Linked DNA regions of Homo sapiens: all the other regions are linked to region 6. Evidence: promoter capture Hi-C in 16 types of primary human blood cells and fetal thymus (Javierre and others, 2016). All regions are on one chromosome and are shown on one strand. Each heading gives the region's core, a stretch centred on a gene start or on the middle of the fragment in contact. The rest is flanking DNA. Distances are from core to core; before and after follow the strand shown. Region 1 overlaps HEATR3 (HEAT repeat containing 3). Region 2 has its middle 32 kb from the start of TENT4B. Region 3 overlaps HEATR3-AS1 (HEATR3 antisense RNA 1). Region 4 has its middle 14 kb from the start of TENT4B. Region 5 overlaps TENT4B (terminal nucleotidyltransferase 4B). Region 6 holds the start of NKD1 (NKD inhibitor of Wnt signaling pathway 1). Region 7 overlaps HEATR3 (HEAT repeat containing 3).

Region 1 (3,905 bases), core at 1,374-3,873, 460 kb after region 6:
AAGAATATTTAATTTAACTCTTGTATCGCTATAGATCTTTGTGTGCATATGAAATTAATCCGTATCAGAGACCTGTAACTTAAGAGAATCAGCTCCTACCATGCAAAGGTGTTTGAAGAAAGATACATGTTAGATGATGGCAAGGTGTAGAATTGTGTGGATGGTATTCTACCATTTGCCTTACACACACGCACGCATGCCCGCATACACACGCTCTCTTATACATGGAGAATCTCTCTGGAAGGATACACAAGTAACTGGTGCAACAGTAACTTGACTCTGGGAGAGGAACTGGGTGTCGGAGAAAGGAGGGAGGCTTTCCAGTTTCTGTCCTCTAATAACTTTTGAATTCTGTACTACATACATATATTAATCAAACTTAAATGCTTGTAACTGGGAAGAAAATAATAGAATAGTACTCAATTATTATTATTATTATTTTGAGATGGAGTTTTGCTCTTGTTGCCCAGGCTGGAGTGCAATGGCACAACCTCAGATCACTGCAATCCCCACCTCCTGGGTTCAAGCGATTCTCCTGCCTCAGCCTCCCGAGTAGCTGGGATTACAGGCATCTCCACCACCACGCCCAGTTAAAGTTTTGTATTTTAGTAGAGCGGTTTCATCATGTTGGCCAGGCTGGTCTCCAACTCCTGACCTGAGGTGATCCTCCCGCCTCGGCCTCCCAAAGTGCTGGGACTACAGGCATGAGCCACCGTGCTTGGCTGAGAATTATCCAAATACCTTAATGAGGCCTTTATGATATTTATGATACAGCCTTGACTGGCCTGATATAACTGGATGCAAACAATTTTAACAAAAAAGAAAATTATAAGCCCAGGAGCTGCTTGCATACCTCGTTTTGACTCTGTACCCCATGGCAACTATAAATACATGATTCCTGTGTCTGGGAAAGGTTTCTGCACATTGGATGACAAACAATATACATTTACAAAATCCAAATTCCTGCCCCTTCAAAATTCTGTTCCGTCTGCGTAGTCTTTCGCAATAAAGTCTAAATACCTGGTTGAGAAAAAAGCAGCTGTGACAGATGCTGTGCAAGCGTCTGAAGGGCTGCGGCTCCTCCCAGGTGCTCCACATCCAGGAGGGACACAAGACTCTGGAGACAGAAGAGGGCTCTGCACTGAATAGTGTTCATTCTGGAAAGGAAGTGAAACAATGCCATCTGATTCTCCAGAAGTTGCCCATCAGAATTCAGTATTAACTTTTAGCCTAAGCTTCACGTTCTGACTGGAAATATCTGTAAATACAAGGTATCTATGGCAGTTAGCAAAGAATCACAAGGTGAACTGTTTTTTGTGTTTTCTAAAATTTATCATCATTTTTTAGACAGGGTCTTACTCTGTTGCCCAGGCTGGAGTGCAGTGGTGTGATCACAGCTCGCTGTAGCCTCAACCTCCTGAGCACAAGTGATCCTCCTGCCTCAGCCTCCTAAGGAGCAGGATTACATGTGCATGCAACCACACCTGGCTAAGTTTTTTATTTTTTGTAGATAGGGGTCTTGCTATGTTGCCCAGGCTGCTCTGGAACTCTTGGCCTCAAACAATCCTCCTGCCTGTACCTTCCAAAGTGCTAGAATTATAAGGTGAACTGTTAATCTGCCAAATCAAACTGCTTGAATATTCACGGCCTCTGATACACAACTCATTCATGAGTCATGAGGAATATGTTTTAGAAAAATTTCTATGTAGGGTAGCATCCTTAAAATTATAATTTTCTTCAGACAGGGTCTCATTCTGTTTCCCAGGCTGGAGTACAGTGTCACCATCATAGCTCACTACAGCCTTAGACTGCTGAGCTCAAGCAATCCTCCCACTTCAGCCTCCTAAGTAGCTAGGACTACAGCTGAGTGCCACTATGCCAGGCTAATTTTTGTATTTTTTTTTCCTTTGTAGAGATGGGGTCTTGCTATGCTGCCCAGGCTGGTTTCAAACTCCTGGCCTCAAGTGATCCTCCTACCTTGGCCTCCCAGAGTCCTGGGATTATAGGTGTGAGCCACCATGCCCAGCCTAAAATTATTTTTAATTGTGAAATGTGACATATATACAGTTAAGTACACAACATACATAGAGAGTTTAACAAACAGTCTATGAAACCAAAACCCATGCACCTGGGAAAGAAATTAACACTGCTGGACCCTGAAAGCCCCTGTATCTCTTCCATATAATATCCCACCTCCCTGACACCTACAGGTAAGCACCATACAGACTTCTATGGTAAACATTTCCTTGCCTCTTTTTTTTTTTAATAGGTTTATCACCAAGGTATGCATCCCTGAACAAAATAGTTCAATGTTGCCTGTTTCTCAACTTTGTAAAAACTGAATCACAGTGTGTGTATTCTTTTATGTCTCGCTTTTTTGGTTCAACAATGTAAGTTCCATCCGAGTTGTGAGTAGCTCTAATTCAGATCCCTTTTACTGCTGCATGTATTGTACTGCGTGATTTTGTCAAAATTTATTTACCATTCTAACTCTGATGGACAACACGTTTGTTTATGGGTTGGGGCAACTGTGACACACACTGCTATGAACACTCTCATATACATGTATTCTAGGGCATGTGGGCACATATTTTTCTGGTATATATACCCAGGAACAAAACTTCTGGGTCCTAGGGGGAGTCAGCACCTTCTATTTAATAGCCCATCATTTCATAAAATAAAATAATGACAAATGTTTTTGAAAGCAGAAGAGTTCTTACTTTCTAATCAAAGGTTTCCAAGTAGGGTTCCTAGAACATAGGTCAACTGCAATGCTGTTTGGAAAGGCAGTTTTCTCAAAAATCTAGATTTAAAAGAGGCAGTAAAGCAAAGGTTAAAGAGTAGTCATTTAACACGATTCCCTTACATAATTCCAACATATTACTCCTAAGTGAAATGGTTAGGCTTCATATAGAATGACCTTTTCGCCTATTTCCAGTACTGTTAGGCTCAGCTTTGTCTCAGATCTTACCACCATCTACAACCTGGAAGTGTGAGCTTGCTTCTTTTGTACACAAAATGAATACCTTGCTTAAGCCTTTCCCATGCTCCACGGTAAGCCTAGAATGAAAATGGATTACCTTCTTTGGGATGAGGTAGTTGGTGAGAGCCGTGTGAACTTCATGGGAGAGGCAGAGGGGAGAAAACAGCTGTCCCCCGCACTCACTGAAGGAATTCTCCATAAATGCGTCACTTTCATCACTGCTAGAAAGCTCTTCCCATTCGTCATCAGAGGGATCTGGGAAGCGGGCAAACCACGCAGAACTGGAATAGTTAAGAAAATCTCCACGGGAGTTTCCCTCTTGGCTCAGGGGGAAAATGTCTAAATGTAAATGTTAACAAACCTTCATTGCAGCACATGTTGACAATAATTTCCAGAGCAGTCTGTTGGGCTGTCAGCAATGCTATAGTCTCTCTCAGTTCCTTGTCAGTGGGCTTAAAAAAAAAAAAAAAAGTAAATGACCAACTCTCAATGGTTGGGAAAATGTTTTTGGGGAATTTCCTTAGTGAAAGCCTACTAGAAGATTTTTGCGCTTGGAATAGAGCACACGGGGAATGGGGTAGGTAAAAGAAAAGTCATGAAGTGCCAGAAGTACAAACGAGCATTATAATTCCTCTTGGTACAGTGGAGCATGCCCCCGTTAACTGGGTTTCCATCTATCTGCATGGCTATTCCCCAAGCGTCACTTAGTTAGCTGGAGAGAACAGACAAATATTCAGGAATTCTGAACAGAATTCACCCTGAAACTTATCTACTGTGTCAAGAAGTAGCTGGGCATACTAAGATTTAAACAAGAGTTCATTTCAGACACCAGGCACTTAGAAACACCAAACCTGCTTTTAGATGCTTAGCTTAGATGTCTTTCTTGGAATGGCTGCGCTAACACACACTACTAACGAGCCCT
Region 2 (3,771 bases), core at 120-2,619, 430 kb after region 6:
ATCTCCTGACCTCGTGATCTGCCCACCTCGGCTTCCCAAAGTGCTGGGATTACAGGCATGAGCCACTGCACCCAGCCACTTGTTTTTGTTTTTGTTTTCTTTTTTTTCATTTTTTTGTAGGGACGAGGTCTTGCTCTGTTGCCCAGGCTGGTCTCAAACTCCTAGGCAAGGAGGGAAAAATAAGGGAAAAGCTTGGCCCGCTTGTTTTGCATTTTACCTTGGAAAAGGCCCTCATGGCTTGGCTTGACACATGTCTGGAAAAAGAATTCCTAAAACAAAGGAAATTTTTTTAAAAGAGGAAAATAAGAATTTACCTTTCTGCTGCTTTTGTTGTTGTCATTTGTTTGTTTTGGGGGTTTTTTTTGAGATGGAGACTCACTCTGTCACCCAGGCTGGAGTACAGTGGCACAACCTCAACCCACTGCAACCTCTGTCTCTTGGGTTCGAACTATCCTCCTGTCTCAGCATCCTAAGTATCTGGGACTACAGGTGCATGCCACCATGCCCGATTAATTTTTTTGTATTTTCAGTAGAGACGAGGTTTCACCACGTTGGCCAGGCTGGTCTTGAGCTCCTGAACGCAAAAGATCGGCCTGCCTCAGCCTCCTAAAGTGCTGGGACTACAGGCGTGAGACACGGTGCCTGGCCCTTTTCTGCTTCTTTGTGATGTAGTCAAAACATAACGTGCTATTGACTCTGAAATTCTTTGTTTTTCTGGGGGAGGCCAAGGCAGGAGGGGCTCTGCAGGTACTGGATTACAGGTGTGAGCCACAGCACATGGCCTGAATTTCGTTTTTAATCTATAAATGTATCACTTAAACATGCACCCCCAAAACCAAATAGCTCCTATGACTTCCAATTTCAAGTAAAATCCCTTCTTCAGCACTTACTCCTTTACTTGGCGCTCTGCCTTCCCCATCCGGGAAACACCCTTGTCTGTTGCACCTGCCCCGTAATCCCCCTCCAGGATGTTTTGTGGTGAGCGCCTTCAACAAAAGAATAGCTACAGAATTAAATGTGTTTGGAACCACATGCACATCGTGCTTTGACTACCTCACAAAGGAGCAGAAAGGCAAATTCTGTTTCCAGTAATGTGCAAAGTCAAGCCACAAGGACCTTCTCTGAGGTAAAATGCAAAATGAAAGGGCCAAGCTTTTCCCTTATTGTGATTGTGTAACCAGCCTAACAGACATTTAATTTGAGAAAAAATTTGAATAATAATATGGAGTTACCCTGGAGTTTTGGGATGGTCTAAGAGTAAGCTTTGAAAAATGTGGCCAAAATGATTATAATCAGGGTGGGGGGAGCAATTTCTGTATTTATTTGGCTGACATGAAAAAAAAATCCAGCTGAAAATCTGCAGGCTGACAAATGGACAGAACCCATTACAGAGCAAGAAAAACTGAGTCAGAGAGGACAGGCTAGAGCTCTGGGAGGCCACACACCTTGTGCCAGAAATCGAAGCTGCCAAGCTTATCACTTACAAACCTTGTCATATCATGTTAGTGGGACGGTTTCAAATGGATAGCCCCTGATCTGTTTTGAAACTAGCCAATATAGCTGGGTGCGATGACTCACACCTGTAACCCCAGCACTTTGGGAGGCCAAGGCAGATGGATCACTTGAGGTCAGGAGAACGAGACCAGCCTGGACAACATGGTGAAACCCTGTCTCTACTAAAAATACAAAAGTTAGCCAGGTGTGGTGGTGGGCACCTATAATCTCAGCTACTCAGGAGGCTGAGGCTGGAGAATTGCTTGAACCTGGGAGGAGGAGGTTGCAGTGAGCCAAGATCGTGCTACTGCACTCCAGCCTGGGCGACAGAGCAAGACTCCATCTCCAAAAAAAAAAAGAAAAAAGAAAGAAACTAGCCAATATAACCAACTTAAAATATAATGGAAGTCATTTCTCTTAGGGCTATAGAGAATATGTGAGACACAGTGAGTGGACTGTTTCTTGTGATCACATCTTATTTACCTTCAGTAATTAGCAAGGGACTGTGACCACAGCAATACAAGATTATTGACCTGTTCAAAGTTCTAAAACAGGACCTGAAAAACACAACCATAATTAATGTTGAATGATTAATCAACATCTATGTGTTGATGGCTGAAAAACCTTGAGTTATAAGATATTATCTCTGTCTAGCTTTTTAAATCATAATTAGTTTTTTTTGTGTGTGTGTATGTGTCTGTAAGACATTACAATTTTGCCTAGCACAGTGGTGAGTCCCTATAGTTCCAGCCACTCAGGAGGCTGAGGCGAGAGGATTGCTTGAGTCCAGGAAGTTCAAGACCACCCTGGGCAACATAGTGAAACTCCATCTCAAAAAAACAAACAAAGCAGCTATAAAATATTGCAGTTTCTCACAGGTGACACTATGGCTACGTCTGCTTGATTATTCAATCTGTTCAAGCCGGACAAGTTGTCAACGTGGCTACAAGTTCATGACTTTGGATCCTATGAAGATCAAAAGTTATGCTTAGGCCAGGCAAAGCTCACACCTGGTAATCCCAGAGCTTTGGGAGGTCAAGCTGGAAGGATCACTTGAGGCCAGGAGTTAGAGGCTGCAGTGAGCTATTATTGCACCACTGCATTCCAGTCTGGGTGACATACATAAATAAATAAGGTGGCACACAGCCTCTTGGCCACAATAACATCCTTTTCAAGAAATATCTGGGTACTTGACTAAATAGCTGTCTTTGCCTTTCATTCATTCATTCATTTATTCATTCTACCAATATTTAACACTGGGGTGCAAGGAGGCATAAGTAAGGACTGTTACTCACAGTCCGGTGGTCCATGGGTTTGTGGGTGTGTCTTCCAGCCAATGTGTCATTGTAGCCAAATCTTTTCTTAATTGGTTGGAGTGCGAGCTCCTGGAGAAGAGACACAAAGGATGGGTAACTCAAGTGGGGAAATTGGTGTTCCTGGAGCAGAGAATCCTGGTGCCACATCCTCAGATTCCCAAGTGATGAGAAGGAGGAAAGAAGAATGATCAGGAAGGATCTATCTCAACATATTTCCTTCCTTCTTTCCTTCCTTCCTTCCCTTTCCTTTTTCTTTCTTTCTTTTTCTTTCTTTCTTTTTCTTTCTTTCTTTCTTTCTTTCTTTCTTTCTTTCTTTCTTTCTTTTTCTTTCTTTCTCAACATATTTCCTTCCTTCCTTCCTTCCTTCCTTCCTTCCTTTCTATCTTTCTTTCTTTCTTAGATGGGTCTCTTTCTGTCACCCAGGTTGGAGTGCAGTGGTGTGATTTTGGCTCACTGCAGCCTCTGCCTCCTGGCCTAAAGCAATTCTCCCTCCTCAGCCTCCCGGGTAACTGAGAATACAGGCACACGCCACCACACCTGGTTAATTTCTTTGGTTATTTTTTTGTTTCACCATGTTGCCCAGGTGGGTCTTGTACTCCTGGGCTCAGGTGGTCCACCTACCTTGGCCTCCCAAAGTGGTGGGGTTACAGATGTGAGCCACCACACCCAGCCCCTATCTCAACACATTTCAAAGAACAAAAATCACACATCCCTCCCATCACTCCTTTTTTTGTTTGTTTGTTTGTTTTTTGGAGAGAAAGAATTTCGCTCTGTCAGCCAGGCTGGAGTGCGGTGGCATGAAATCAGCTCACTGCAGCCTTGACCTCCCAGGCTCAAGCGATTCTTTCACCTCATTCTCCAAGTAGCTGAGACTACAGGTACATGCCACCATGCCTGGCTAATTTTCTTGATTTTGTTATAGAGACAAGGTCTCACTATATTGCCCAGGCTGGTCTCAAAG
Region 3 (3,708 bases), core at 943-3,442, 500 kb after region 6:
ACCCGCCTCGGCCTCCCAAAGTGCTGGGATTACAGGCATAAGCCACTGCACCCAGCCAACATTTGTAGTATTCTTATAAAATTTTCCACTTTAAAAAAATTATGATTTTCTGCCAGGCACGGTGGCTCACGCCTGTAATCGTAGCACTTTGGGAGGCTGAGGCAGGTGGGTCACTTGAGGTCAGGAGTTCCAGACCAGCCTGGCCAGCATGGTGAAACCCCATCTCTACTAAAAATATATTTTAAAAAATTAGCCGGGTGTGGTGGTGGGCACCTGTAATTCCAGCTACTTGGGAGGCTGAGGCAGGAGGATCGCTTGAACCTGGGAGGCAGAGGTTGCAGTGAGCCAAGATCGAGCCATTTCACTCCAGCCTGGGCAACAAGAATGAAACCCTGTCTCAAAAAATTAATTAATTAATTAAATTAAAAATTATCATTTTCCAGGTAAACTCACTTAATATTGCAGTTTCTTTTCTTTGCTCCCAGGTGGGCAGCATTTCCTTTCTATTTGTAGTTTCTTGTTTCCTTTGCTCAGCAATCAATGACCCCACTCTCCGTCTAGGAACTTCTAGTCTCTGCTGAAGAGCTAGTACATTCCCATGTAGTTTTTAAAAAAATTGATACATAATAATTGTGCATATTTATGGGGTACATGTGATACTTTGATACATATAATCCGTACAATGTAATAATCAAATCGGGGTAATTAGCATATCCATCACCTCAAACATTCATCATTTCTTTGTGTTGGGAATATTTGAAATCTCTTCTAGCAATTTTTATTTGTTTTGTTTTAAATTTTGATTTTTTATATTGACAAGAAATAATTGTGTATATTCATGGGGTACATAGGGATGTTTCAATACATATAATGTATAGTGCTCAGAGCATGGTAATTAGCATGTTCATCATCTCAAACATTTATTATTTCTTTGCATTGGGAACGTTCAATATTCTCCTTGTAGCTATTTTGAAATGTACGATAAATTGTTGTTAATTACAGTTACCCTATTGTGATACTGGACACTAGAGCTTGTTTTTTCTATCTGACTATGTGTTTGCACCCATTAACCAAGCTCCCTCCCCTACTTCCTTCCAGCCCCTGGTAACCATCATTCTACTCTCCACTTCCATGAGAGCAACTTTTTTAGCTTCCACATGTGAATGAGAACATGCAATATTTGTCTTTGTGTGCCTGGCTTATCTCACTTAAAATAATGACCTCCAATTCCATCCACGTTGCTGTGATAGGATTTTATTCTTTTTTGTGGCTGAATAGTATTCCACTGTGTATATATACCACATTTTCTTTATCCACTCATTGGTTGATGAATACTTAGGTTGATTCTGTAACTTGGCTATTGTGAATAGTCCTGCAATAAACATGGCTGGAGCAGGTATACCTTTGATATGCTGATTTCCTTTCCTTTGGATAAATACACAGTGGTGAAATTGCTGGATTATACAGTAGTTCTATTTTCAGTTTTTTGAGGAAACTTCATGCTGTTTTCCATAATGGCTGTACTAATTTACATTCCCACCAAAATTATATAAGAGTTCCCTTTTCTCCACATCCTTGCCAGCATTTGTTATTTATTTATTTATTTATTGTCTTTTTGATAATAGCCATTCTAACTGGAGTGAGATGATAGTTCATTGTGGTTTTGATTTACATTTATCTGATGATTAGTGCTGTTAAGCATATTTGCATATACCTGTTGGCTATTTGTGTGTCTTCTTTTGAGATGTGCCTATTCATGTGGTCTTTACCCCTCCTTTTTTTTTTTTTTGAGATGGAGTCTCACTCTGTCACCCAGGCTGGAGTGCAGTGGCATGATCTTGGCTCACTGCAACCTCCACCTCCCAGGTTCAAGCAATTCTCCTGCCTCAGCCTCCAGAGTAGCTGGGACTAAAGGCACATGCCACCACGCCTGGCTAATTTTTTTGTGTTTTTAATAGAGATGGGGTTTCACCATGTTGGCCATGCTGGACTCAATCTCCTGACCTTGTGATCTGCCTGCCTCAGTCTCCCAAAGTGCTGGGATTACAGGTGTGAGCCACCACACCCAGCCTTTGCCACTTTTTAATGGGATTATTTGTTTTTTTGCTGTTGAGTTGCTTGAGTTCCTTGTATATTCTGGATATTAGTCCCTTGTATATTCTGGATATTAGTCCCTTGTTGGATGAATGGTTTGGAAATAATTTCTCATATTTTACAGGTTGTCTCTTTACTCTGTTGATTGTTTCCTTTTCTTCTTAGTTTAATATAGCCTCTTTTGTCTGTTTTTGTTTTTGTTGCCTGTGCTTTTGAAGTCTTAGGCATAAAATCTTTGCCTAGACCAATGTCCTGAAGCATTTTCCCTATGCTTTTTCTAGTAGTTTTATAGTTTCAGGTCTTGCATTTAAGCCTTTAATTCATTTTTAGTTGATTTTTTGTACGTGGTGAGAGAGGGGTCTAGATTCATTCTTCTGCATAGGGATATCTAGATTTCCCAGCACCGTTTATTGAGAGTGTCCTTTCACCAGTGTATGTTGTTGTCACCTTTGTCAAAAATCAGTTGGCTGTTTGTGGCGGAATTCACACAGAAAAAAAAATCAGTTGGCTGTAAATATGTGGATTTACTTCTGAATTCTCTATTCTGTTCAGTTGGTCTGTGTGTCTGTTTTTATGCCAATATCATGCTGTTTCGTTTATTATGGCCTCGTAGAATCTTTTGAAGTCAGATAGATGCCTCCAAACTTTGTTCTTTGTATATTGCTTTAGCTGCTTGCATTCCCATCTGGTTTTAATTATGTCAAGGCAAGCCCTGATTCCTCTAAAGGTTACTCTATTTTTGTACTTGTTTTATTTATTTTTAACTGATCAATGGGCTAATATCACTTCAGTTTTTAAATAAGTAACTATTAATATTAGTGATTATGTATTTTTGTTTTTGCATTATCTTCCATGCTACATCAAAATCAGGATTTATCAAATTTTCAGGTAACAATGGAGGTAAGAAATTTTTATTTATTTTTTCTTTTTAATTAATATTTTTGAGACAGGGTCTGACTCTGTTGCCCAGGCTGGAGTGCAAGGCATGATCTCAGCTCACTGCAGCTTCCACCTGCCAGACAGAAACCATTCTTCCACCTCAGCCCTCCTGAGTAGCTGGAACTACAGGTGGGCACCACCATGCCTGGCTAATTTTTGCATTTTTGGTAGAGACAGGGTGTTGCCATGTTGCTCAGGCTGGTCTCGAACTCCTGGGCTCAAGTGATCCTCCCAACTTGGCCTCCCAAAGTGCTGAGATTACAGGCGTGAACCACCACACCCAGCCTGGAAGTAAGGATTTTTTAAAAGTAACTGATGGAGTGACCGGGCGTGGTGGCTCATACCTGTAATCCCAGCACTTTGAGAGGCCAAGGTGGGTGGATCATTTGAGGTCAGGAGTTTGAGACTAGCCTGACCAACAAGGTGAAACTCCATCTCTACTAAAAATACAAAAAAATTAGCCGGGTGTGGTATTGAGCGCCTGTAATCCTAGCTACTTAGGAGGCTGAGGCAGGCGAGTCACTTGATGCCAGGAGGCAGAGGTTGCAGTGAGCTGAGATCCTGCCACTGCACTCCAGCCTGGGCAACAGAGTAAGACTCTATCTAAAAAAAAAAAAAAAAAAAAAAAAAGTAACAGATGGCTTGTTTTACGTATCTCAAATAAATAAATAAAAT
Region 4 (3,687 bases), core at 561-3,060, 410 kb after region 6:
TGATGTATCTCCATTGCCAGTGGAAGAGGCCTCCCTACCCCAGTGGTATGGGTCTCCCCATCACTCTCCCAGCCCCATCTCAGGGAATTAACTCTGCATTGCCTGAGGAAACTGTAAAGGCCTCCACTGAGGCAGTTGACAGGCAAGACTATGCTGATTCTGTTACGGGACCACCTCAACAACCCCCTTTGCTTCTAGACCTGTAACTAGACCCAAGTACCAGTAGGTCCCTAAGGCGAAGTACAAAGTGTGACCCAAGAGGAGGGATGCGATGCTCCAAAAGAACTACAGCAGTCCCCCCAATCCATGGCTTTGCTTTCCACAGTTTCAGTTACCCACAGTCAACCATGATTCAAAAGTATTAAGTGGAAAATTCCAGAAGTAAGCAACTCATACTTTTTTTTCTGTTTTTGTTTTGTTTTGTTTTCTTTTGTTATTGAGACAGATAGGGTCTTGCTCTCCACTCAGGCTTGAGTACAGTGGTGTGATCATAGCTCACTGCAGCCTTGAACTCCTGGGCTCAATCCATCTTCCCATCTTGCCTCCCAAGTTAGCTGGGACTACGGGTGTGCACCACCAAGCTTGGCCAATTTTTTTGTTTTGTATCGTTTTGTTTTGTTTTGTTTTGTTTTTGTAGAGATGGTGGTCTCACTGTGTTGTCCACGTTGGTCTTGAACTCTTAGCCTCAATGGTGCCTCCCACCTTGGCCTTCCAAAACGCTGGAATTATAGGCATGAATCACTATGCCCAACCAACTCATAATTTCAATTGCGTGTTGTTCTGAGTAGTGTGATAAAATATCGTGTCATTGCTAAATGGACTTAGGGTTGTTTAAAAGAAATAAAGAATATAAATAAAATAACACAATAAATTAAAAAAAAAACTTACACCATCCCACCCAGGGTGCGAATCATCCCTCTGTCCAGCATACCTGCACTGTGTATGCTATTCACTCATTTTCACTTAGTAGCTGTCTCAGTTATCAGATTGACTGTCATGGTATCACAGTGTTTGTGTGCAAGTGGCTTTTATTTCACTCAATAGTAGCCCCAAAGTAAGAGTAGTGATGCTGGCAATTCAGATATGCCAAAGAAAAGCTGTCAAGTACTTCTTCTAAGTAAGGAGGTGAAAGTGCTCAACTTAATAAGGAAAGAAAAAAACTCATATGTTGAGGTTGCTAAGATCTATAGTAAGAACAAATCTTTTATCTGTGAAACTGTGAAGAAGGAAAAAGTAATGAAATTCATGCTAGTTTTGCTGTCACACCTCAAATTGCAAGTTAGACTACAGTGACTGACAACTTTCATTACAGCATGTTGTTATAATTGTTCTATTTTATTATTAGTTATTGTTAATCTCTTCCGGTGCCTAATTTTTGTTTGTTTGTTTGTTTGTTTTTGAGACAGAGTGTCACTCTGTCACCCGGCTGGAGTGCAGTGGCACAATCTTAGCTCACTGCAACCTCCACCTCCTGGGTTCAAGTGATTCTCCTGTCTCAGCCTCCTGAGTAGCTGGGACTACAGGCACACACCACCACGCCTGGCTAATTTTTTTTTTTTTTTTTTTTTTTTTTTAGGAGAGACAGAGTTTTGCCATGTTGCACCAGCTGGTCTCAAACTCCCGACCTCAGGTGATCTGCCTGCCTTGGCCTCCCAAAGTGCTGGGATTACAGGCTCAAGCCACCATGCCTGGCCTAATTTTTTTTTTTTTTTAGTGCAGTCAAGGTCTTGCTATGTTGCCCAGGCTGGTCTCAAAGTCCTGGGCTCAAGGGATCCTGTCTTCTCAGCCTCCCAGCATCCTGGGATTACAGGCTTGAGCCACCACACCTGTCGTAGAGCCTTTCTAACTCCCTAAACTGAAGAATTAAAGGCAGAATCTCTGCTTAGTGGGCCCAAATCAATTAATTTAGCCTGACCCAACCTTATGTTCTTTCCACCATCATCGCATACCCTTAGTATCCATTCTCACACATGCTCTCCCATTTCTGTCCATATAAATTAGAAAACTCAAGTAGAGTAGTCCCCTCTTAGCCTAAGGGAATATGTTCCAAGACCCCCAGTGGAAGACTGAAACTGTGGTTAGTACCGAACCCTACATATACTATGCTTTTTTCTATATACACATACCTATGGTAAAGTGTAATTTATAAATTACTTGCTGGGCACAGTTGCTCATGCCTGTAACCCCAGCACTTTGGGAGGCTGAGGTGGGCAGATCACTTGAGGTCACGAGTTTGAGACCACTCTGGCCAATATAGTGAAACCCCATCTGTACTAAAAATATGAAAATTAGCTGGGCATGCTGATATGCACCTGTAGTCCCAGCTACTCAGGAGACTGAAGTGGGAGAATCACTTGAACCCGGGAGGTAGAGGTTGCAGTGAGCCAAGATCGTGCCATTGCACTCCAGCCTGGGTGACAGAGTGAGACTCCATCTCAAAAAAAAAGCCAGCCAGGCATGATGGTGTGTTCCTGTAGTCCAAGCTACTCAGGAGGCTGAGGTAGGAGGACCATTTGAGCCTGGGAGGTCGAGGCTGCAGTGAGCCATACTCTGGCCTGGCTGATAGAGTGAGACCCTGTCAAAAAACAAACAAACAAACAAAAAGGCCAGGCAAGGTGGCTCACGCCTGTAATCCCAGCAGTTTGGGAGGCTGAGGAGGGCAGATCATGAGGTCAAGAGTTCGAGACCAGTCTGGCCAACATGGTGAAACCCTGTCTCTACCAAGAATACAAAAATTAGCCAGATGTGGTGGCGGGCACCTGTAATCCCAGCTACTCGGGAGGCTGAGGCAGGAGAACTGCTTGAACTCAGGAGGCAGAGGTTGCAGTGAGCTGAGATCGAGCCACTGCACTCCAGTCTGGGTGACAGAGCAAGACTCTGTCTTGGGGGAAAAAAAAAGGAAAGAAAAGAAAAAGCTCTAACACTTCAGTTGGTTGGCTCAAACATGGAAAACATGGACCAAAACCTGGTCCATGGTGAGCAAATTGGAAATGCCGTACCTGCCTTGGTTTTATGTAGGGAAAGGAATTCAGAAGCTTAGGGAGATTGGCATGCTAGAGTGAATTTGTCATTTAAGGCCTATTCACCCACACTGGGAAGGTTCAAAAGACACACCTTTCACTAGTACCGTGAAACATAACATCATGAGGGGAGCACATCCTTGGAGAGCTCTGTGATCACCCTACTCTGTAGGCCTGGCCTTTCGATGGAAACTGCACTCACAGAATCGGGAAGCCTAAATGCAATGGGAGTCATTGGATCCCACCCCTGCCCAGAGTGGCAGGTTCCAAGTTTTGGGACTCAACCAACAGAGGCAAGGGGGGTGTGGTTGCCATGATGAACAGCAGAATCAAGGCAGCAATCAGAATAGTCTGACTCATGAAGACCTTTGGCATTGGCAAGTTTATCAGGGTGTTCCTAGAAGTGAAATATTTTCTTACTTGATCTGTATATGCAGAAAATTTCTAGGTCAGATGAACAAAAGTTTAACATGTATCATAAAAATTGATTCATAACCCCTCAGTGAATTGCTGGACATCAGCCACTTTACTGACCCAGGACCACTTGAATGAAGGGGATACCTGGACCTGTTGAAGAATAACCCCAGTACTCCTAAAAATCTATCTTTGTGTGTGTGTGTTTTGTTTTGTTTTTGTTTTTGCTTTTGAGACAGAGTCTCACTCTGTT
Region 5 (3,426 bases), core at 775-3,274, 390 kb after region 6:
AGTATTCAATGATCACAGATTTTGGATAAAAGATGGAAGTTGTGGAATGAAAGTTAAGTTAGCGGCCGGGCGCAGTGGCTCATGTCTGTAATCCTAGCACTGTGGGAGGCCAAGGCAGGCAGATCATTTGAGTCAGGAGTCCAAGACCAGCCTGGCCAACACGGCGAAACCCCGTCTCTACTAAAAATACAAAAATTAGCCGGTGTGGTGGCGGGTGCCTGTAATCCCAGCTACTCAGGAGGCTGAGGCAGGAAAATCACTTGAACCCAGGAGTGTTGAAGTTGCAGTAAGCCAAGATCACGCCACTGCACTCCAGCCTGGGTGGCATAGCAAGACTCCGTCTCAAAAAACAAAAACAAAACAAAACAAAAAAAACAAAGAAAGTTAAGTTAGTTGAACACAGTATACTAAATTTTGAGACATTCTTAAATATGAATTATATTGTTAGTGTACAATCTACACTATAGAAAACCTAATGTCTTCTTAAAAGCGCATGTCAGTACCCAAATCAGTAAAATTCAATAACCTGAAGGTTCTAGTTCACTAAGAATTACTGTGGGCTATATCTGCAAATGCACAGAAATTAAATAGAGCACAAATCACTTGGAAAAAGGCCTCTAAATTCTTTCATATTCAATCTACTTTAATCTGTCTGATTGCTTTGGAGCCCAGCAGTAACACCAATCTCATTGGTAACACTGTGTAGAAATAAGCAGAGAGAGGCCGGGCGCGGTGGCTCATGCCTGTAATCCCAGCACTTTGGGCGGCCGAGGCAGGTAGATCACCTGATGTTGGGAGTTTGACACCAGCCTGACCAACATGGAGAAACCCCATCTCTACTAAAGATACAAAATTAGGCATGGTGGCACATGCCTGTAATCCCAGCTACTTGGGAGGCTGAGGCAGGAGAATTGCTTGAACCCGGGAGTCAGAGGTTGCAATGAGCCAAGATCGCGCCACTGCACTCCAACCTGGGCAACACAAGTGAAACTCCGTCTAAAAAAAAAAAAAAAACAGAAAGAGAGAGAGAGGGAGGGAGCGAGAGCGAGAGAGAGAGAGAAAGAGAAGCAGATATAAGCCCTAATGCAGTGCTGAAAAAAGGCATGAACATCTTGGGCTTACTATGACATGATGAACAATGGGCACTAGAGGATGGCACATACAAGAGGATACTGCCCTACGGCAGTGAAGAGCACTACATCTCAGCCCTCCAAATCTCAGCTCCCCACTAGCAGGTCCACCTATACATCCCCCTACTATCTTCTTACCCAAACCAATAGTCCTTCTGGCCCTTATTTCCAAAAACACCACAAATATTTCCCCAGTCACTCAAGTTCAAAGCTACAGTGTGATTATTAAATCCACTTAAGGAATCTGAATCATCTCCATCCTTACCCTGTAATACCTCTCACATTCATTCTCCCTTCACATCCCCATTCCCACCATCCTAGTTTAAGAAATTGTACCTTAAACCCAAGTTTCCCAACAAGGTCTTGATGTCCCCACAGCCAAATTTGTACTCCAAAACATTGTTTTGAACAAGTCATCCAAGCCTTAAAAAAGCATCTACAGATCTGGCAGTACAGCCAACAGAAACCTATCATGAGCTTGGACAAACACCAAGCACCTTCCAGAAGAAGTTTCTGGACCCAGGGCTCAAGACCAAGTTCTGCAAATTCCCTGTATTTGCTACTTCTTGCCATCCCCTCTTTCTCCATAGTGATAAACAATTAAGTCTTTCAAAAGAAAAGGGTTTATGGCTCGTTTTCATGGACAAGCAGCAGCAGGTGGACAGCATCCTAAACCATGGCCAGTTCTGGAGGGGAGCAAAGCCCAAGAGAATCAGTGGAAGCAACTTAAAACATAAAAGGCCAGGCCAGGCATGGTGGCTCATGCCTGTAATCCTGACACTTTGGGAAGCCAAGGTGGGCAGATCACTTGAGGTCAGAAGTTCGAAACCAGTCTGGCCAACATGGTGAGACCCCATCTCTACTAAAAATACAAAAATTACCTGGGCATGGTGGCGGGCGCCTGTAATCCCAGTTACTCGGGAGGCTGAGGCAGGAGAATTGCTCGAACCTGGGAGACGGAGGTTGCAGTGGGCCAAGATTGTGCCACCACACTCCAGCCTGGGCAAGAGAGCAAGACTCCCTCTCATTAATTCATTCATTCATTCATAATTAAATAAATAAATAAGGCCAGGCATGGTGGCTCACACCTGTAATCCCAACATTTTGCTAGGCGGAGGCGGGAGGATCACTTGGACCAGGAGTTGGAGACCTTCATGGGCAACATGACAAGACCCCATCTTTACAAAAAAAACCAAAATGAGCCAGGCATGGTGGCACTCGCCTGTAGTCCCAACTACTCAGGAGGCTGAGGTGGGAAGTTCACTTCAGCCTGGGAGGCCAAGGCTGCTGTGACCCATGATTATGACACTGCACTCCAGCCTGAGCGACAGAGCAAGACCCTGTCTCAAAAAAAATTAAAAAAATAAATTTAGGCCAGGCACAGTGGCTCACACCTGTAATCCCAGCACACTGGGAGGCCAAGGCATGTGGATGGCTTGAGCCCAGGCAAAGGCTGCAGTGAGCCGAGATCACACCACTGCACTCCAGCCTGGGCAACAGAGCGAGACCCTGTCTCCATAAAATTAAATTAAAATTTAAAAATAATAAAACACAAAATAAAAAAATGTTTTAAAAAGCAAACAAAATCCCTGGTCTGTGGGTACATGAAGAAGTCTGAGATGATGAGCTCAAGAGTTTTATTTTGAAGACTTTAGGATGAAATCCAATATCTTACTCTACATATTAAAGAAATGTCCATGTCATGTGTAAGAGGGAACACATAATAAAAGGAAAGTTAAACATAAGTGGGCTATACCAAGAGCATGAAGTGAGTACCTTTGAGAGTTCAGAGGAGAAACCAAAAACATCAAGGACTTAGGCAATGCAAGAGGTCAGCATTCTAAATAAATCAACCAATTTGGTGGAAGCAGAGAACACAAAAGACAGCTGCGAGAGACTATATAGCTGTCCCATGGTTCTAGTCCATTTTCACATGCTTTCTGGTCTCCTCTCCCCATCTGGACTATCAGTTCAGAGGCCAAGAACCACCACAATGTGTTAACCTATTAGCTAACTATCAGTCACATCTTAAGAATTCAGAAAACAATGGTAACAGTTTTAGTATATTTAATCTCAGAACAGCATAACATCGAGGTGCACTCTGAATTCAGATTTTTTTAAATACCTATATTAAAAATAGAAAAACTTTCTAAAGTTAAGAAATAAGGATACTGGCGAGAATGGTGGCTCATGCCTATAATCCCAGCACTCTGTGAGGCCAAGGTGGGAGGACTGCTTGAGGCCGGTTGAAGACCAGCCTAGGCAACAAATGGAGGCCCCATCTCTACAAAAAGTA
Region 6 (3,399 bases), core at 283-2,782:
CCTAATACCCCCTTCTCTCTAGCCCCTACTCCACCTCCACCTTTGAATGCTGGTGGCAGAAACAAGGTAGAAGTCAGAGCAGGCCCCCAAATCCCGCCGGTACAGACACGATTCCCCATCAACTGGACCTTCACCACCTCCCCACCTAGGACCTTTCCCCCAGGCAGCCCTCTGCCTCCAGCTGGGCACTTCGAGGTTCTCCAAGGCATGCGGGCAGAGGGTCGCGTTGGTGGGGCAGGGGGCAGCTGAGAAGAGATTTTCAGACCCAGAAGCTGTGCAGGAAAGTGCTCAAAGTTGGGGTGCATGGGTTTGGGGACCCATCTCTGAGGCTGAAAGGAGGCCAGGAGGTGGGGCAGGGGTGGGGAATCATACCCGGGTGCTTCGGCCTATGGTGCCCGCCAACCGCAGCTGTCGGGGTCCCGAGACACCGCCCGGGCAGCGCTGTCTCCCGATCCACTCCTCGATGCCCTTCCGAGCCCAGGCAGCGCTCACGGCGAAGCTGTCACCTGGGACGGGGACGACATGAAGCCCCTGAGTCTGGCTCCAGGTGCCAAAAGTTACCCCCGCGGAGGGAAGAAGGAGGCGCGGTGGGAGGCGAAGGACCACGGCACGGGGGCCAGGAGGGGGTTCGCGGGCTGGGGCAGGAGCCAAGAGAGGGACGCGGGTAAGTAAAGGGGGGTTCAGCGAAGCCCTAGGAGCGAGGAGCCAGAAGGGGGCAAGAGGGGTGAGCAGTACCCCAGGAGGACGGGTTTAGGATCAGACCAGGGAGCACTGGCAGCCAGGACTGCGGAGGAGAGGGCTGGGGGTCAGGAGAGGGGCCGCAGTAGGTGCAGGAGCCAGGATATCGGAAGAAGGGCCGGGGGGCAGGAAGAGGGGGCAGGGTCTTGCGGGGAGGCGCTTGGGGGTCTGAAGAGAGGGTGCCGTGAGAGCCGAGGGCAGGGACGCGGGAGGGGGAGGGGTTGAGGGTCAGCGGTGGGAGCGCAGGACCGCGGGGAGCGGGTAGGAGGGACAGAGGAGGGGGCGCGAAGGCTGCTCAGGGAGCGGGCTTGGGGGGCCGGTGGCCGGAACTGGGGCTTCGGGGTGGCCCTGGTCATAAGACCTGGCGGGCTGGGCCGTTCTGCCGCGGCCGCGGTGTCCCCCGCGTCCATCCCCGAGGTCTGCGCCCCGCGCGCCCCTACCTTCCGGGCTCTCCCTGCGCTTGCACACGGCGGCTGCAGGCACATCGCGAGGCGGCGGCGGCGGCGGCAGCCGCGGCGGCGGGAGAAGGAAAGAAAGGAAGGGAGAGAGTTAGCGACCGCGGCGGCGACGGCGGCGGGGCCCGGGGCGAGCGCGCGGGCGGGGGCACTGACCCGGCTTGGAGTGAAGTTTCCCCATGCTGGGGCTGCGGCGGCCGGGAGCGTCCCTAAGCCATGCGCCCGGCCCGCGGGCCTGGCGCCTCCCTTGGCTCTCCTCCTCCCGAAGCAGCCCCCGAGCCGAGCGGAGCCCGAGGCGGCGCCGGGACGCGCTCCTGCCGCCGTCGCCGCGGCCCGACTGACGCCCGGGAGCGCCGAGCCCCCAGCCCGCCGCCGCGGCCCGCGCCTCCCCGCGCGCCCATTGGCCGGTGCGGCGCATCAAAGGCAAGGCTGGTTGCGGCGGGGGCGGGGCCGGAGGCGGGGCAGGGCGGGGACGAGGGCGGGGCGCTGACGGGAGGGGCGGGACACAGTCCGCGCTCCCTGCCGCGGTCTGGGGCCGGGGGCCGAGCTCCAGGGCTGGCGACCCGGCGGGGCGGCTTGTCCAGGAGGCGTATTGGGACAGAACAGCCCGGCCATCGCTAACTGTACTGTCACTTCCCTCCGCTCCACGTTCTCTCTAAACGGGCAGGGCGGGACTCGGCGGCTCCAATTTACAGGTGGGGAAACTGAGGTCGGGAGCGGAGACCTTAGCTGCTCAGGTGCAAGCTTCGGCAGCGCTGCCTTTTCCCAGTCTTCCCACGACCTACCTTCTGCAGAAAGTGTTCATTACCCGCCCCGTGACCCGCCCCCCACCACCGCACTCCTCTAGTTTCTTATTTGGGGAGTCCAGGAGGAGCCCCCAGCGCACCCCGGGCCAGTGTGAGCCCAGCCCTCTCCAGGCAGCGACAAATGTCCAAAGCGCCCCGTTATCAGCCAGTCTCTGGGATCTCCTCGTCCGGGGGCCCGTGGGTGCCCGCCCGGGTCGGGGCGCGCTGCCAAACTGCGCGGCCCGGAAGGGGGTAACCGCTGAGTCTTTGATCTTCCTTGGTTTCCGCTCCCCGCTGCAGTTCGCCAGACCCAAGGGTTTGTTTGTTTTGTCTGGGGAGGTCTCTGCGGGGAGGTCGCGCGGGGGGAGGGGGATGGTGGCGGTCGACATCAAGGGATTCCACCCCACCTTTGTGGCTCTCAGAACGCCTGCCCCCTTCTGGGGACACTGTGGGTCCGTGTTACGCTCGTCCTGGCACCAGGCAGCTCTGGCGTGGGAAAAGAAAACCCGCAGCTCAGAGTGAGACCAGCCCCGACCTTTGGAGTGAATTACCTGTGCTCAGTTTTGTGATCTGTATAATGGAGGCTCCATTCTGCCCTTTTTGCCGACTCTCTAGAGCAGCACTGCCCAATAGAAATATAATGTGGGCCACATTTGTAATTTTAAATTTTCTTGTCGCCACATCTTTTAGAAGTAAAAAGAAATAGATGAAATATTAATAATATATTTCGCTTAACTCAATACAGTCAGCCCTCCTTATTCACAGGTTCCACATCTGTGGCATCAACCATCTGTGGACTGAAAATATGCAAAAAGAATAATACAGCAAAAATAAAGAATAAAAAACTTTTTAATATAGTATAACAACTATTTACATAACATTTACATTGTATTAGGAATTACAAGGAATCTAGAGATGATTTAAAGTATTCAGAAGGATGTGTGTAGGTTATATGCAAATACTACAGGACATTTTATATAGCGGACTTGACATCTGGGGATTTGGGTATCCTCTAGGATCCTGGAACCAGTCCCCAAAGACACCAAGGGAACACCATATATCCAAAATAGTATAATTTCAAGATATAATGAGATATTTTACATTCTTTGTATTGCGCTAAGTCTTTAAAATTCAGTGTGTATTTTACACTTAAAACACATCTCAAAGACTAGCCATATTGCAAGTGACCATTTGCACTTGGCTAGTGGCTACTGCATTGGGCAGCATCGCTCTGGAAGATCTACATGTCTCAAAAGGACATTAGGAATTCACAGCCCCCCAGAGTCATAAATCTCTTCATCCAAGTGTCTTACTTTCATGTTCCAAGCTTCCTTTTTTAACACCCTTTTTGGTGGAAACGAAGGCTAATGTTATAAGCAGGTACACTAAAATCCTGTTGGCCAGGTGGTTTCATTTGAAGA
Region 7 (3,531 bases), core at 308-2,807, 440 kb after region 6:
AGACCAGCCTGGCCAACACGGTGAAACCCGTCTCTACTGAAAAAAAAAAACAAACCAAAAAACCAAAAACAAAAACAAGGTGTGGTGGTGGGTGCCTGTAATTCCAGCTACTCAGGAGGCTGAGGCATGAGAATCGCTTGAACCTGGAATGGCAGAGGTTGCAGTAAGCCAAGATCGCAGCACTGTAATACAGCCTGGGCAGCAGTGAGACTCCATCTCAAAAAAGAAAAAAACAACAAAACAAAACAAACAAACAAAACACACACACAAAAAAACCAGCAACAGAGTTTCTGACAGGTTTTGAAGTTTTTTTTTTTTTTTTTTTTTGGAGACAGGGTCTCCCTCTGTCACCCAGGCTGGAGTGCAGTAGCGTGATCTCAGCTCACTGCAACCTCTGTCTCCCAGGTTCAACCGACTCTCCTCCCTCAGCCTCCCGAGTAGCTGGGATCACAGGCATGTGCCACCATGCTTATGCATGCGGTTTCACCATGTTGGCCAGGCTGGCCTCAAACTCCTGACCTCAAGTGATCCACCCGCCTCGGTCTCCCAAGGTGCTGGGATTATAGGCGTGAGCCACCATGCCTGGCCAGGTTTTGAAGTTTTTACAGAATGTACAGAATGTAATCATTAAAAAATGACTTTCAGAAACATATACATTCAAAGAAAACCTTTTAGTATTCTAAGCATTGAATACTTTGGGGGAAGAACTGGTTTCTTTTTTGGATTGTTTAAGAAGTCAGTCTTTTCTCAACAGTTTCTTGATAAGCAATAAATCTTCGCAAATTCATTTTCACATTGTCAAGAACACACAGCTGATCTGTGCTATAGTTACCTCTCCCTTCTTTACGTATCTGCAAACAAAAAACAAAAAATCATATATGACTTGGTAGATATGATTAATTCATTTAAATAAAGTATTTAATTTAGGGTGTATTTAACCATTTGCTGAAGCAGATAGCTGTAAGAATTTGGAAAAAATGTTTTTACTTCCAAGGTAAATGGAACTCGGTAAGTAAAGAATAAACTGAGAATGTGCATTATTAAAAATGATAGTTACAAAGGTGACTGAATGGCAGGTGGTAGGAGTTATATAAACTATAGAAAGGAATTATGTAAACCATGAATTGGGAAAATAACCCCTAACCTCTGAAAGGTCTGCTGTTCAGATTGATTTTCCTAGTTAGTATGCATTGCTATGGTAATAATACTTAATTGTTTTTCTTCTCTCAAAGGTATAAAGCCTTAATGAAATTCCTTTGTTAGGCTGGGTGCATACTCATGCCTGTAATCCCAGCAGTTTGGGAGGCCGAGGCAGGAGGTTTGCTTGAGTCCAGGAGTTCAAGACTAGCCTGGGCAACACAGTGAGACCCCACCTTAAAAAAAAAATTCCTTTGTTAGCCAGAGGTTAGTCTGTAGTGTTGTGGTTTTTTTGTTTTTGGAACAGGGTCTCTCTCTGTCGCCCAGGCCAGAGAGCCGTGCTGCAGTCATGGGTCACTGCAGCCTCGACCTCCCGGACGCAAGTGATCCTCCTGCCTCTGCCACCACAGTAGCTAGGACTACAAGCAGCGCACTACCATGCTGGAGTAATTTTTTTAAATTTTTAGTAGAGGTGGGGTCTCACTATGTTGCCCAGGCTGGTCTTGAACTCGTGGGCTCAAGTGATCCTACCACCTTGGCCTTCCATAGTGCTGGGATTACTGGTGTGAGCCACCATGCCCAGCGCTGGTTTTGTTTGTTTGCTTGTTTTTTGTTTTTAATAGAGATGGGTCTTGCTTCATCGCCTAGGCTGGAGTGCAGTGCTGCAATCCACTGAGCTCACTGTAGCCTCCAACTCCTGCACTCACACGATCCTCCTGCTCAGCTTCCTGAGTAGCTGGGATGACAGGCATGAGCCACCACTTAATGGCTAACTTAAAAAAATTTTTTTGTAGAGACAAGTTCTTGCTATGTTTCCCAGGCTGGTCTTGAAATCCTGGACTCGAGTGATCCTCCCACCTGGGGCTCCCAAAGTGCTGGGATTACAGGTGTGAGCCACTGCGCCTGGCCTGTGGTTTTTTATATCAATTGTATGGAATCTGAGTTTGATCTCACCTCTAGTCTAGAGCAGTGGCTCTCAGGTTTTAGTGTGCAACGGTATCATCTGGAAGGCTTGTTGAAAAATAGACTGGTGGGCCCATCCACAGAGTCTATGACTCAGTAGGTCAGGAGTTGGGGCCGAGGACCTGCATTTTGAATAAGTTATCAGGCAAGGGCTGATGCTGCTGATACAAGGAGGGCACTTTTGAGAAACACTGCTCAAGAGAAGTTCTTGATTGTACATAAATGCATTTTGCAGCTAAATATACACTGAATAGCCTTTAACACAAATTGTGGCTTCATTTAGCAAAAAAAAGAGTTTCACATAAATAACTACAGGCTAGCCTCTGGCTAGGAAGAAATCTCATTAGAGCTTTATACCTTTGATAAAAGAAAAACAAATGTTATTACCACAGCAATACATACTGAGTAGGAAAATCAATCAGAACAAAGACCTTTCAGAAGTCAGGGGTTATTTTCCCAGTTCACTGTTTAACCTTTTTTAAGCACCTGCTTCTGCAGAGTTTGATGACTCTAACTATTAATATATCTGCTTTCCTTGAAGCTGCAGGGAAATAGGGGATATTTTTTTCTTATCTTGCAAGCTCTTTATCCAGAAATTTAAAGGACTGTAACCTTTAAGAACAATATGGCTGGGCACAGTGGCTCACACCTGTAATCCCAGCACTTTGGGAGGCCAAGGTGGGCAGATCACCTGAGGTTGGGAGTTCGAGACCAGCCTGGATGACAAGGCGAATCCCCGTTTCTACTAAAAATACAAAAATTATTTGGGTGATGTGGTGGACACCTGTAATCCCAGCTACTTGGGAGGCTGAGGCACAAGAATCACTTGAACTGGGGAAGGGGAGGTCGCAGTGAGCCAAGATCGCACCACTGCACTCCAGCATGGGCGACAGAGTGAGATTCTGTCTCAAAAAAACAAAAAAAAGTAAAATTAAATAAATGCAAAATGTGTATGAAAGTGCTTTGCAAAATACAGAGTATAATACTGACATATATGAAGCATTGTCAAAATTACTAAACTTAAAAAAAGAAGAACTTGTCAGATACCATTTTAGCTTCAGTTTCAATGATTCAGTAGTCACACTGTTGAGCTATGACTCAGTCAACGAACATTTTACAAAGTACTGGGGATGCTGTGCTACATATGGGGATTCGTCATGCACATGCTTCTGAGTTGCACAGCGGTAACTACACACACCCTTGTCCCCACAGAATGTTCAGACTTATGTATTTATAAGTTAAATGGCTACAAACCTTCATTTTAAAGACCGGCTGGAATTCTTTCAGAGCAGATAATAATTTAATTTGAATCGAGGCTCTTTCGGCTTCTTTACCATCTGCAAAAACATCAAAGAGGGCATCCAAAGCTTCTCCTGCTACCACAAGGGAAGGATCTTTGGTGGTAACTTCAAGCAGAAAGCACCCAATGTT

The links. The method cuts DNA at HindIII sites, captures the fragments that hold promoters and counts their contacts. A CHiCAGO score of 5 or more calls a contact.
Region 1: a fragment that was not itself captured here is called in contact with the fragment with the promoter of NKD1 in region 6 in 2 of 17 cell types (naive CD8 T cells and activated CD4 T cells); the score reaches 6.2 in naive CD8 T cells.
Region 2: a fragment that was not itself captured here is called in contact with the fragment with the promoter of NKD1 in region 6 in 2 of 17 cell types (non-activated CD4 T cells and naive CD8 T cells); the score reaches 7.6 in non-activated CD4 T cells.
Region 3: a contact is called between a fragment that was not itself captured here and the fragment with the promoter of NKD1 in region 6, in 2 of 17 cell types (total B cells and total CD8 T cells). The highest score is 7.0, in total B cells.
Region 4: a fragment that was not itself captured here is called in contact with the fragment with the promoter of NKD1 in region 6 in 1 of 17 cell types (non-activated CD4 T cells); the score reaches 5.3 in non-activated CD4 T cells.
Region 5: a fragment that was not itself captured here is called in contact with the fragment with the promoter of NKD1 in region 6 in 7 of 17 cell types (non-activated CD4 T cells, naive CD8 T cells, total CD8 T cells and 4 more); the score reaches 12.2 in non-activated CD4 T cells.
Region 7: a fragment that was not itself captured here is called in contact with the fragment with the promoter of NKD1 in region 6 in 2 of 17 cell types (activated CD4 T cells and naive B cells); the score reaches 6.0 in activated CD4 T cells.

Annotation. Positions count from the first base shown.
Region 1 is chr16:50,083,467-50,087,371 of GRCh38, reverse strand. HEATR3 (HEAT repeat containing 3) reads right to left here. Exons shown (of 15, transcript NM_182922.4): 8 at 3,345-3,435; 9 at 3,081-3,238; 10 at 2,721-2,803; 11 at 1,021-1,157. Among named protein-coding and RNA genes, the nearest start is that of HEATR3-AS1, 19 kb to the right of the region's middle. The HindIII fragment of the contact is 2,772 bases long and covers 1,238-3,905 here.
Region 2 is chr16:50,119,174-50,122,944 of GRCh38, reverse strand. No RefSeq gene overlaps it. Among named protein-coding and RNA genes, the nearest start is that of TENT4B, 32 kb to the left of the region's middle. RefSeq lists silencers at 1,040-1,099, 1,390-1,479. The HindIII fragment of the contact is 210 bases long and covers 1,265-1,474 here.
Region 3 is chr16:50,050,069-50,053,776 of GRCh38, reverse strand. The region is part of intron 2 of HEATR3-AS1 (HEATR3 antisense RNA 1); the gene reads left to right. Among named protein-coding and RNA genes, the nearest start is that of HEATR3, 14 kb to the left of the region's middle. The HindIII fragment of the contact is 9,594 bases long and covers 1-3,708 here.
Region 4 is chr16:50,137,098-50,140,784 of GRCh38, reverse strand. No RefSeq gene overlaps it. Among named protein-coding and RNA genes, the nearest start is that of TENT4B, 14 kb to the left of the region's middle. The HindIII fragment of the contact is 2,454 bases long and covers 584-3,037 here.
Region 5 is chr16:50,156,835-50,160,260 of GRCh38, reverse strand. All of the region lies in intron 1 of TENT4B (terminal nucleotidyltransferase 4B), which reads right to left. Among named protein-coding and RNA genes, the nearest start is that of TENT4B, 5.2 kb to the right of the region's middle. The HindIII fragment of the contact is 5,097 bases long and covers 1-3,426 here.
Region 6 is chr16:50,546,529-50,549,927 of GRCh38, reverse strand. NKD1 (NKD inhibitor of Wnt signaling pathway 1) reads right to left here and starts at 1,532. Exons shown (of 10, transcript NM_033119.5): 1 at 1,350-1,532; 2 at 1,179-1,211; 3 at 373-506. The coding sequence starts at 1,374. RefSeq lists silencers at 1,210-1,399, 1,440-1,889. The HindIII fragment of the contact is 5,196 bases long and covers 1-1,939 here.
Region 7 is chr16:50,102,259-50,105,789 of GRCh38, reverse strand. HEATR3 (HEAT repeat containing 3) reads right to left here. Exons shown (of 15, transcript NM_182922.4): 14 at 3,355-3,531; 15 at 1-851. The coding sequence ends at 729. Among named protein-coding and RNA genes, the nearest start is that of HEATR3-AS1, 38 kb to the right of the region's middle. The HindIII fragment of the contact is 3,825 bases long and covers 1-3,469 here.